Regions from separate parts of the Homo sapiens genome. Here all the other regions are linked to region 3. The links are contacts of gene promoters, found by promoter capture Hi-C in blood cells and fetal thymus (Javierre and others, 2016). All regions are on one chromosome and are shown on one strand. The core of a region is centred on a gene start or on the middle of the fragment in contact, and the rest is flanking DNA. Distances in the headings are between cores, read along the strand shown.

Evidence for each region. The method cuts DNA at HindIII sites, captures the fragments that hold promoters and counts their contacts. A CHiCAGO score of 5 or more calls a contact.
Region 1: a fragment that was not itself captured here is called in contact with the fragment with the promoter of CCDC171 in region 3 in 6 of 17 cell types (non-activated CD4 T cells, naive CD4 T cells, activated CD4 T cells and 3 more); the score reaches 6.9 in non-activated CD4 T cells.
Region 2: a fragment that was not itself captured here is called in contact with the fragment with the promoter of CCDC171 in region 3 in 1 of 17 cell types (non-activated CD4 T cells); the score reaches 6.6 in non-activated CD4 T cells.

The regions. Positions count from the first base shown.
Region 1 is chr9:15,330,788-15,333,955 of GRCh38, forward strand. No RefSeq gene overlaps it. Among named protein-coding and RNA genes, the nearest start is that of TTC39B, 25 kb to the left of the region's middle. The HindIII fragment of the contact is 2,334 bases long and covers 160-2,493 here.
Region 2 is chr9:15,360,652-15,363,651 of GRCh38, forward strand. It overlaps the pseudogene RPL7P33. Among named protein-coding and RNA genes, the nearest start is that of TTC39B, 55 kb to the left of the region's middle. The HindIII fragment of the contact is 1,097 bases long and covers 884-1,980 here.
Region 3 is chr9:15,551,650-15,554,428 of GRCh38, forward strand. CCDC171 (coiled-coil domain containing 171) reads left to right here and starts at 1,394. Exons shown (of 26, transcript NM_173550.4): 1 at 1,394-1,653. RefSeq lists enhancers at 991-1,636, 1,532-1,701 and silencers at 1,092-1,151, 1,162-1,251. The HindIII fragment of the contact is 6,396 bases long and covers 63-2,779 here.

The sequences.
Region 1 (3,168 bases), core at 77-2,576, 220 kb before region 3:
GTTCAGCCAAGGCAACCAACTGATTTATTTAAAAAATAAAAATAAAAAACAATACTATTCAGAGGCTCTAAAAGAATCCAACTCAAACTCCGGTGTGTTAAAAGCTATCTTCCTACCTACTGCACCTTACCTCTTTACAATCTATTTAATCTCTTTTTAAGCTTTGTTAGATGGGAATGAGAAAATTAGCACATCTTTCTGGAAAACACTGTAGCAAAAAGTAACAAGAGTTTAAAATTGTTTGTACCTTTTATCCTTCCTGGGACAAGAGGACACCTTTACAAATTCACTTCTTGCTTTTAGGTAAGTAAAGGAAGGGCAGAGAACTTTTCTTGTATCTGCTTCCTCTCAGTTGCCTTCAGCTCAAAATAATCTTCATGCCAAAGTGGCATATTTTGGGTTTGCATATTCTGCTACTCTTAAGTTTTTAATCATAGCACTATTTTTCATTTGTAAAATTGCATATTACCTACGAGACAGGGAAAGATTTAAAAGTTTCATAAAATGCTATGTTGGAAAGGCTTATTGTTGATATTGAGTTGTTGTTGTTGTTGTTGTTGTTGTTTTTGAGACAGGGTCTCACTCTGTCAACCAGACTGGAGTGCAGTGGCATGAACACAGCTCAGTGCAGCCTCAATCTCCTGGGCTAAAGTGATCGTCCCACCTCAGCCTCCCATATAGCTGGGACCACAGACATGCGCCATTACACCTGGCTAAGTTTTTAAATTTTTTCTAGAGATGGGGTCTTGCCCACACCAGTCTTGAACCCCTAGACTCAAGCAATCCTCCCATCTCAGCCTCCCCAAGTGCTGGGATTACAGGTGTGAGCCACTCTGCCCGACCGATACTGAGCTTTTCATTGCAACAATTCTAATGAGGGCAATTTAGCAATAATCAACCAGAATTACAAATTTCCTGCAATTCCACATCTGGGAACTTATCCTACAGATATACTCACATATATGTGAAACTACCTATGTGCAAGGTTACTCATTGCAGTGATATTTTTAACAACGCAAATTTGGGAACTACTGAAACCATCCATCAGTGAGGGATTGGTGGCCAGGTGTGGTAGTTTGTGCCTGTAATCCCAGCACTTTGGGAAGCCAAGACTGATGGATGGCTTGAGTTCAGGAATTCAAGACCAGCCTGGGCAACATGGTGAAACCCCATCTCTACAAACAAAGTACAAAAATTAGCTGGGCATGGTGGTGCATGCCTGTAATCCCAGCTACTTGAGAGGCTGAGGTGGGAGGCTCGCTTGAGCCTGGGAGGTGGAGGTTGTGGTGAGCCGAGATCAGCCACTGCACTCCAACCTGGGTGACAGCATGAGACCACATCTCAAAAAAAAATAAAAGAATTGTTGATACTATAAAACAATGGAGTATTATTATTCAGCCTTAAAAAATAAAAATAAAAATGCCAGGTGCAGTGGCTCACGCCCATAATCCCAACACTTTGGGAGGCTGAGGTGGGCAAATCGCCTGAGCTCTGGAGTTCGCGACCAGCCTGAGCAACATAGTGAGACCACCGTCTCTACAAAAAATACAAAAAAAAATTAGCCAGGCATGGTGGTGCATGCCTGTAGTCCCAGCTACTCGGGAGGCTGAGGCATGAGAATCGCTTGAACCCAGGAGGCGGAGATTGCAGAGAGCCAAGATGGCACCACTGCACTCCAGCCTGGGGGACAGAGCGAGACTCCATCTCAAAAAAAAAAAAAAATTAAAATTAAAAAATAATAAAAATAAGGATTCTCCTTAAGTACTAACATTGAATCATTGCCAAGATATATAAAGTAAAATAGGCAAGGCACAGAACAGTATTAATTGTTCCCTATTATTCTTTCTCCCTTCTTCCAAAAGTTTTAGCCAGACACATGACCATCAGGAGTAGACTACATTTTCCAGTGTCCCTTGCAGCTAAGAGTGGCTATGTGATTGAAGTCTCCTCAGTGAGATATGAGCAAAACTATTATGTGGCAGCTTCCAGGTCCCTTCCTTAGACAGAGGTATTATGTGGCCTTTGTTTCTCCATTGGACACATTCTTCATTGGATACACTCCATCCTGCTCCCGGGAAAGTAGTTCTCTCATCTTGGTTCATGATTGAACTGGAAGAAAACCAAGTCCCTTTTGGAGCTCACACACATCACAACTCTGGACCACTCTTGGAATTTCGCATGACAGTGATATAACCATCTTTTTTAAACCATTATTATTTGGGGTTTCAGTTATTTGAAGCTGAACCCAGACCTATCTCTTACACAAGTATAAATTTTGCAAGACTTATATCTGGCTAAATTGCCTGCAGAAAGATTGTGTCAATTTGTGCTGCAATAAGTGCTGTATAAATGTGTACAGAGCTTTTTTTTGCCACACTGTGCCATCTCCTGGATACCAGATGCCAACTGCTCGCTGGATCTAGAGACAGGTAAAAAGAATCTACAAATGTGACCTGGATGCCAGGACAGGCAGAGGCACCAGTACCAGCAAGAAGCTTCAGAAATAGAGTAGTTATTAAAATGACCATTTGCAGTGAGAAAATAAATCACTACAAACTACCAACTACCAGAGGCTAGGAGATTCAGGTCCCTTACTTGTGACATCTCTTTAGGCAATTTATCATAAATGCTTTTATATGGATGCATCCTGCTTACAATCTGGCTTCCCCTTCCGCTTAGGTCACCCTTTAACTCTCTGTAAGTCCCAGCACCCACAGAATCTGAGCAAGTGAAGGACCAGGAATTTTAAACCTCAGTAAAGTCCACCGTGCTGTTAATGTTAATCTGCCCTGAGCAGACACACCTTGTAAATACTCTGAGAATAAGGTTCAAAGTACCAAGGGCACTTGAGGAGGACATGGCTTTGCTTCAGTCAGGGAAGATTTCCTAGAAAAGTTAATGCTTAACAGAAGCCAACAAAGAAATGAGTGAAAAACGGAAGAGGAACTAGGATTTCTGCCCAGTTGGGAATTTTGGCGTTTACAAAACACCATTGAAACACTGACTCAATTATCATCTTCCTCCTGGAAAGACAGAAGTCTTCCCTATGATGTTAAAGAGGACACATTTTCTTTTTTTTTCTTTCATCTAATTCTCAAAATAGTTTCTTTCTTTTATGTTTTAGATTCACTTTTTCCATCTGTTTTTTAATCTTTTCAGTATAATGCC
Region 2 (3,000 bases), core at 182-2,681, 190 kb before region 3:
AGATACTTTCTTAAACATATGTAAGAACATCTGTCTCATATATTGCTAGAAGTGAAATTTCTGGGTGAACGGCTGTGCTGGTAATTTTGATAGCTATTACCAAATTCTACCCATAGACATTTTACCAGTTGGACTCCCACCAGCAACATACAAGAATGTCCAGTTCCACACAGACGCATCCATAGAATGTCATTGCTGGTGCTCAGAAAACAATACACCAAAATGAAGGCCTCAAAAGCAAAAGTTCTTTTCTGACCTTCTCCTACCCTCCTATCTCTCAGTCCCATTCTCCCTCAAGACTAGAATTCTAGAAAACTAGAATTCTAGAAACTAGAATCCTTCTTCCCCAAGGTGGGCCATAGAAACCAGTACCCCTTTTCCCCATAGAAACCAGAACCCTTTTTCCCCAATCAGCCATAAAACCTAAAAATCTTACTCTAAGTTTCCATCTGCCTTTCTTTCTAAAATCTGGCCATAAAAAAAATTATCTGACCTACCTTGTTTGACTGTAGGCCCAAAGGCCCCCAATCCAGAGAGATCTTTCCCCATACTCAGAAGGAAGGAATGCATGCTCAGGAAGGCCGAGAAGAATCTAGACAGAGAGGCCTTGCTGGGTTTCCCCACTCATTCTATTAGCATTAGATTAGACCCTTTTTGTCCAATCATTTTTCTACATGGCCGATCATACATTGTTGAACCTAAGCATAAAAATGGGCAGTTTCTCCTCTTTTCTAGCTAGAACCATAGAGGGTGTCGAAGAGAAGCAGCAGCAGCTTCCCGCTGTGTCAGAAACTTAAGAAAAAACAAAGGAATTTCGCAGAACTGAAGATCAAGCGCCTGAGAAAGAAGTTTGCCCAAAAGATATTTTGAAAGGCAAAAAGGAAGCTTATCTATGAAAAAGTGAAGCACTATCACAAGGAATATAGGCAGATGTACAGAACTGAAATTCGAATGGTGAGGATGGCAAGAAAAGCTGGCAACGTCTATGTGCCTGCAGAACCCAAATTGGTGTTTGTCATCAGATTCAGAGGTATCAATGGTGTGAGCACAAAGGTCCGAAAGGTGTTGCAGCTTCTTTGCCTTCATCAAATCTTCAATGGAACCTTTGTGAAGCTCAACAAGGCTTCAACTAACATGCTGTGGATTGTAGAGCCATACATTGCATGGAGGTACCCAAATCTGAAGTCAGTAAATGAACTAATCTACCAGCGTGGTTATGGCAAAATCAGTAAGAAGCAAATTGCTTTGATAGAAAACGCTTTGATTGCTCAATCTCTTGGTAAATATGGCACCATCTGCCTGGAGGATCTGATTCATGAGACCTATACTGTTGGAAAATGCTTCAAAGAAGCAAATAGCTTCCTGTGGCCCTTCAAATTATCTTCTCCAAGAAGTGGAATGAAGAAACTGACCATCTATTTTGTAGAAGGTGGAGATGCTGGCAACAGGGAGGACCAGATTAACAGGCTTCTTAGAAGAATGAACTAAGGTGTCTACCATGATTATTTTTCTAATCAGGTCAGTTAATAAACAGTACTTGCTCTCAAACTGAAGAAAAAAAATGAACAATTTCCCCTGTATTTTTTTTTTTTTTTGAGACGAAGTCTCACTCTGCTGCCCAGGCTAGAGTGCAGTGGCGCCATCTCTGCTCACTGCAAGCTCCACCTCCCGGGTTCAAGCTCCCATATAAACATGTTAAATACATTTGCACGCCTTTTATCCAAATAATCTGCCTTTTGCAAGTTAATTTTTCAGCGAAACTTCAGAGGGCTCTTGGCCCCTAAATTGTCCAATCTTAGGATTTTTGCCAACCTTCCAGGTGTACACATTCTTTACTCATTACTTAGCTGTTGTTCTTACAGAGACAGAATATGAGTTGCAAATGTGATTCCCCAGTTCTTTTTATTTTATATACTTCTTTTCCCCGCCTTTTCGTTTTATTTTTGTGCTAGTTTCTGTTTTATATAGTCAAATTTATCAAGCTTTTCTTTTGTGACTTTAGGATTTTAAGGCATAGTTGCAAAGGTCTTCCTAACTGCAAGATTTTAAAGGTATTTCTTCTGCTTCTTTCAAGAACTTTTAAGTTTACAATAATAACTTATGCAAGTAGTGATAGTTTTACCTTCTCCTTTCACAATTTTTATACTCCTAGTCTCTGTCTCTTGTCTAATTGCATTGGCTAAAACCTTCAGCACCTTGTGAAATAATAGCAGTGACGACGGACATCTTTTATCTTATTCCTCACTTTATTGGAAATGTTTATAAATTCTGGCATTAAGCACGATGTTGAGCTGAGATCAATTTATCTTATCATGTTAAGGAAATATCCATCTATATCTACCTAAGTCAATATTTTTATCAAGCATGGTTGTCAAATTTGGCCAAATGTATTTTCAGCATCTATGGAGACCATTTTATGGTTTTTCTTCAGATCTACCCATATGATCAGATATATTAATATATTTCCAATATCAAAATATCTAGACTAAACCTCAGGGCACATTTCATTTCTTCATGCTTTCTGGCCATCTTCTTTTTCTCACCATCTCCTATTTTTGTTCTTTTTGAGACAGAGTCTTGCTTTGTCGCCCAGGCTGGAGTGCAGTGGCACCATCTCGGCTCACTGCAACCTCCTCCTCCTCCCAGATTAAAGCAATTCTCCCGCCTCAGCCTCCTGAGAAGTTGGGACTAGAGACACTATGTTTACATTAAAAAGTCCATATATATATATATATATATATATATATATATATATATATATAACTTTTTTTCATTAAAAGGATGCTCATGGCAGGGCACAGTGTTTCACGCCTGTAATCCCAGCACTTTGGGAGGCCGAGATGGGTGGATCACCTGAGGTCAGGAGTTCGAGACCAGCCTGGCCAACATGGTGAAAAATGCTACTGAAAATACAAAAATTAGCTGGGCATGGTGCTGGGTGCCTGTAAACTCAGCTACTCAGAAGGCTGAGGCAAGAGAATCGCTTGAACCCGGGAGACA
Region 3 (2,779 bases), core at 144-2,643:
GTTTCAAAAAAAAAAAAAAAAAAAAGAAAAAGAAAAAAATAAAATTTAAAAATATTTTTTAAAGCTTGTAACATAAAAGTTCTAATCTCATTAGTCAGTTGTAATTTTCCATTTCATTTCTAAACTTTAGAGTGGGCTATTTTTTCCCTTTATTTCCTCTGGAGCAATTGTCCTCTTTATGGCTCTAGTAAAAAGAATCAGGGACAGGCCTCCGTTTTAGATGTAAATGACTAAAATCAAACCAATTAAGGTTTCAGTGCTACAAGAATCAAGGAGGTTTTAATCTCAATTTGTGTTTGCATTTATGACCGTTGGCTCTCCCATGGGAGAGAGAAAAGACGGCCCCTACACCTGGTTTCAGGTTGATTACAATCAACAAGGACCCAGTTTAGTATAGAAGGCTCGTTTTGCATTAAACACCTTTTTGTGCAGAGGAGGTGGTGGTGGTGAAGATAAAAATCTTTGACCAAATCCTGTCAATTTGCATTGTTCTCTGGAAGAATAGGCTTTCAAAAGTTAAGGAACAAAAGAGGAGTTGGTTTTCCAGTCTCCCTTAGGCGGCAGCAGATTGTGAAGCAGCCACCGGGAGGAACCAAAGTATAAATTATCAATAAGAGGACGGTGTGTGTGTGTGTGTGTGTGTGTGTGTGTGTGTGTGTGTGTGTGTCAGAGAAAAGTGAGAGAAGCGAGGAAAGAGATAGGGAACACACATGCTAAGGCTCCGAGGCGTTTTCCACGATGTGCCTGGTTACGTAATGTTGATAATGAAACGCACTGCAAGCAGCATCAATGCATTCTTCCGACCCTGCTCACCACTCCCAGCTGGGATACAATGGGGACGGGAAGAGGGGACAGGATGCCCTGTGCAGGCAGAGAGCTGTCCAGACAGAGGTAAACCAGGCAGTTGGGCAGAACCCGAGCCCAGAGAATTTCTCCCCAGGCCCCGGGACCAGCCCACCGTTGCTGTGGCTCTAAAGATGGGCAGAAGAACCAGTTTCAAAAAGCAGGATCTGGGATCCGACCTCTTAGGTTTTTATTCAGCAGGCAGGGAAAAGGGGTTAGAAGCTGGAAATCTGCATTTCCACTCGGCTCTGGCGACTGAGACAGGAACGCGGACACCTCACGCTGAAAAGCCACAGCAGCGCGTGGGCAGGGCGCACCCCCGCGCGGGGACGCGGAGCTCCTGGAGCGAGAGCGCGTGCGGTCGCGAGCCCGCCGCTCCCCAGCAACGGCGCATGCGCCCGTTCGTCCCTCAGCGAAGGCGCGCTGCTTGGCGGGCGGGCTCTTCCAATCCGAGCCAGCGTTCTCGGAGTACGTATCCAGGAGCTGCAAGCTGAGGGCTGCGGGAGGCGGGAGGAAAAAGTGGGGCCGGGCCTGAGTTGGGCTGACCTGTGAAAGTCTGGGAAGGTCTGCGAGAGAAGCGGAGTGTTTTCAGCTCCGGAAGTGGCAGTTGTAAACTTCACCTCCCGGGGGCTCTTCCCCTTCTGTACCCCTTTGCTGTTTGTCCCCCTCCTCCCGGGTCCTGGAGTCCGTCGTGTTCCAACAGTTTTTGCTCTTATTCCCGTGGGCTGCCTGGGCCTCCTTTCACCCGTGAGACTTGGAGCGGCCCCTGGGGTCTTGGGTGTGCAGCACGGATCACGCGAGACCCCTGAGGTAACCGCACGGTGTGGGGGCTTCGAGGCGGACGACTTGGGAGGGAGGTGTTGAGAGGGTTGTAGGGGCCCCTGAGTGAGTTTGGGGCGGCCCTGGGGCTGTTGGCGTAGGCTTTGGGGCACGCCTCCAGCTCCCTGGGCTGGGTCTCCCCGCCCACCTGGAGGAAGATCTCCGTGGAGCATCCTAGCCAGAGATCGCTGAGGCTGTACCAGAGCGCCGGATGGGGACCAGAGGGGAGGCAGAGGACCGGGATTTGGAGCTTCTTAGGGTTACTGCTGCGGAGCGCTTTCGTTCCCGAGAATCAGTAAGCCCCTCGAGGATAGGGACCACGTCTTTCAGCCCGCTCTCCCCTTTTTAAATGCCGGCCACACACTAGACACTCTACAGATGTTTGATAAACGGGAATGAGTTGTGCTAGACTGTCACCTGCAGCTTCTACCTACCCTCCAGGACTCTGAGAGACTTAGAATCTGAGTCAGCTGTGCGTTTTCCCGAAGCTGTAAATTTTCTGCAGAAATGGAGCCGACTTTTTGAATTTTTTTATTCCATTATGATATTGATCCTAAGAAAATACATATTTCATGTATACATTTTAGGTAAATGAGATAAATACGTCTTTATTTTGTTTATTAGAGTTGGTGTCCAGCTCTTTTGAATACATGACATACCGATGTTTTATGGTTTTCATAATATTGGAGAAAAGAACATACGATTTTGTCACTTTTTTTTTTTTTTGAGATGGAGTCTTGCTCTGTCACCCAGGCTGGAGTGCAGTGGCGCGATCTCGGCTCACTGCAAGCTCCGCCTCCCGGGTTCACGCCATTCTCCTGTCTCAGCCTCCCCAGCAGCCGGGACAACCGGCGCACGCCGCCACGCCCGGCTAATTTTTTTGTATTTTTAGTGGAGACGGGGTTTCACTGTGTTAGCCAGGATGGTCTCGATCTCCTGACATCGTGATCCGCCCGCCTCGGCCTCCCAAAGTGCTGGGATTACAGGCGTGAGCCACTGCGCCCGGCATGTCACTTATTTTATTTAACTGTTAGTTCCTACTCTCAACAAAACAGTGGTAGAGCAGAAGATGAACATGGTTTTTCATAAAATGCAGAGGAAACAAAGGCAGTGCAAC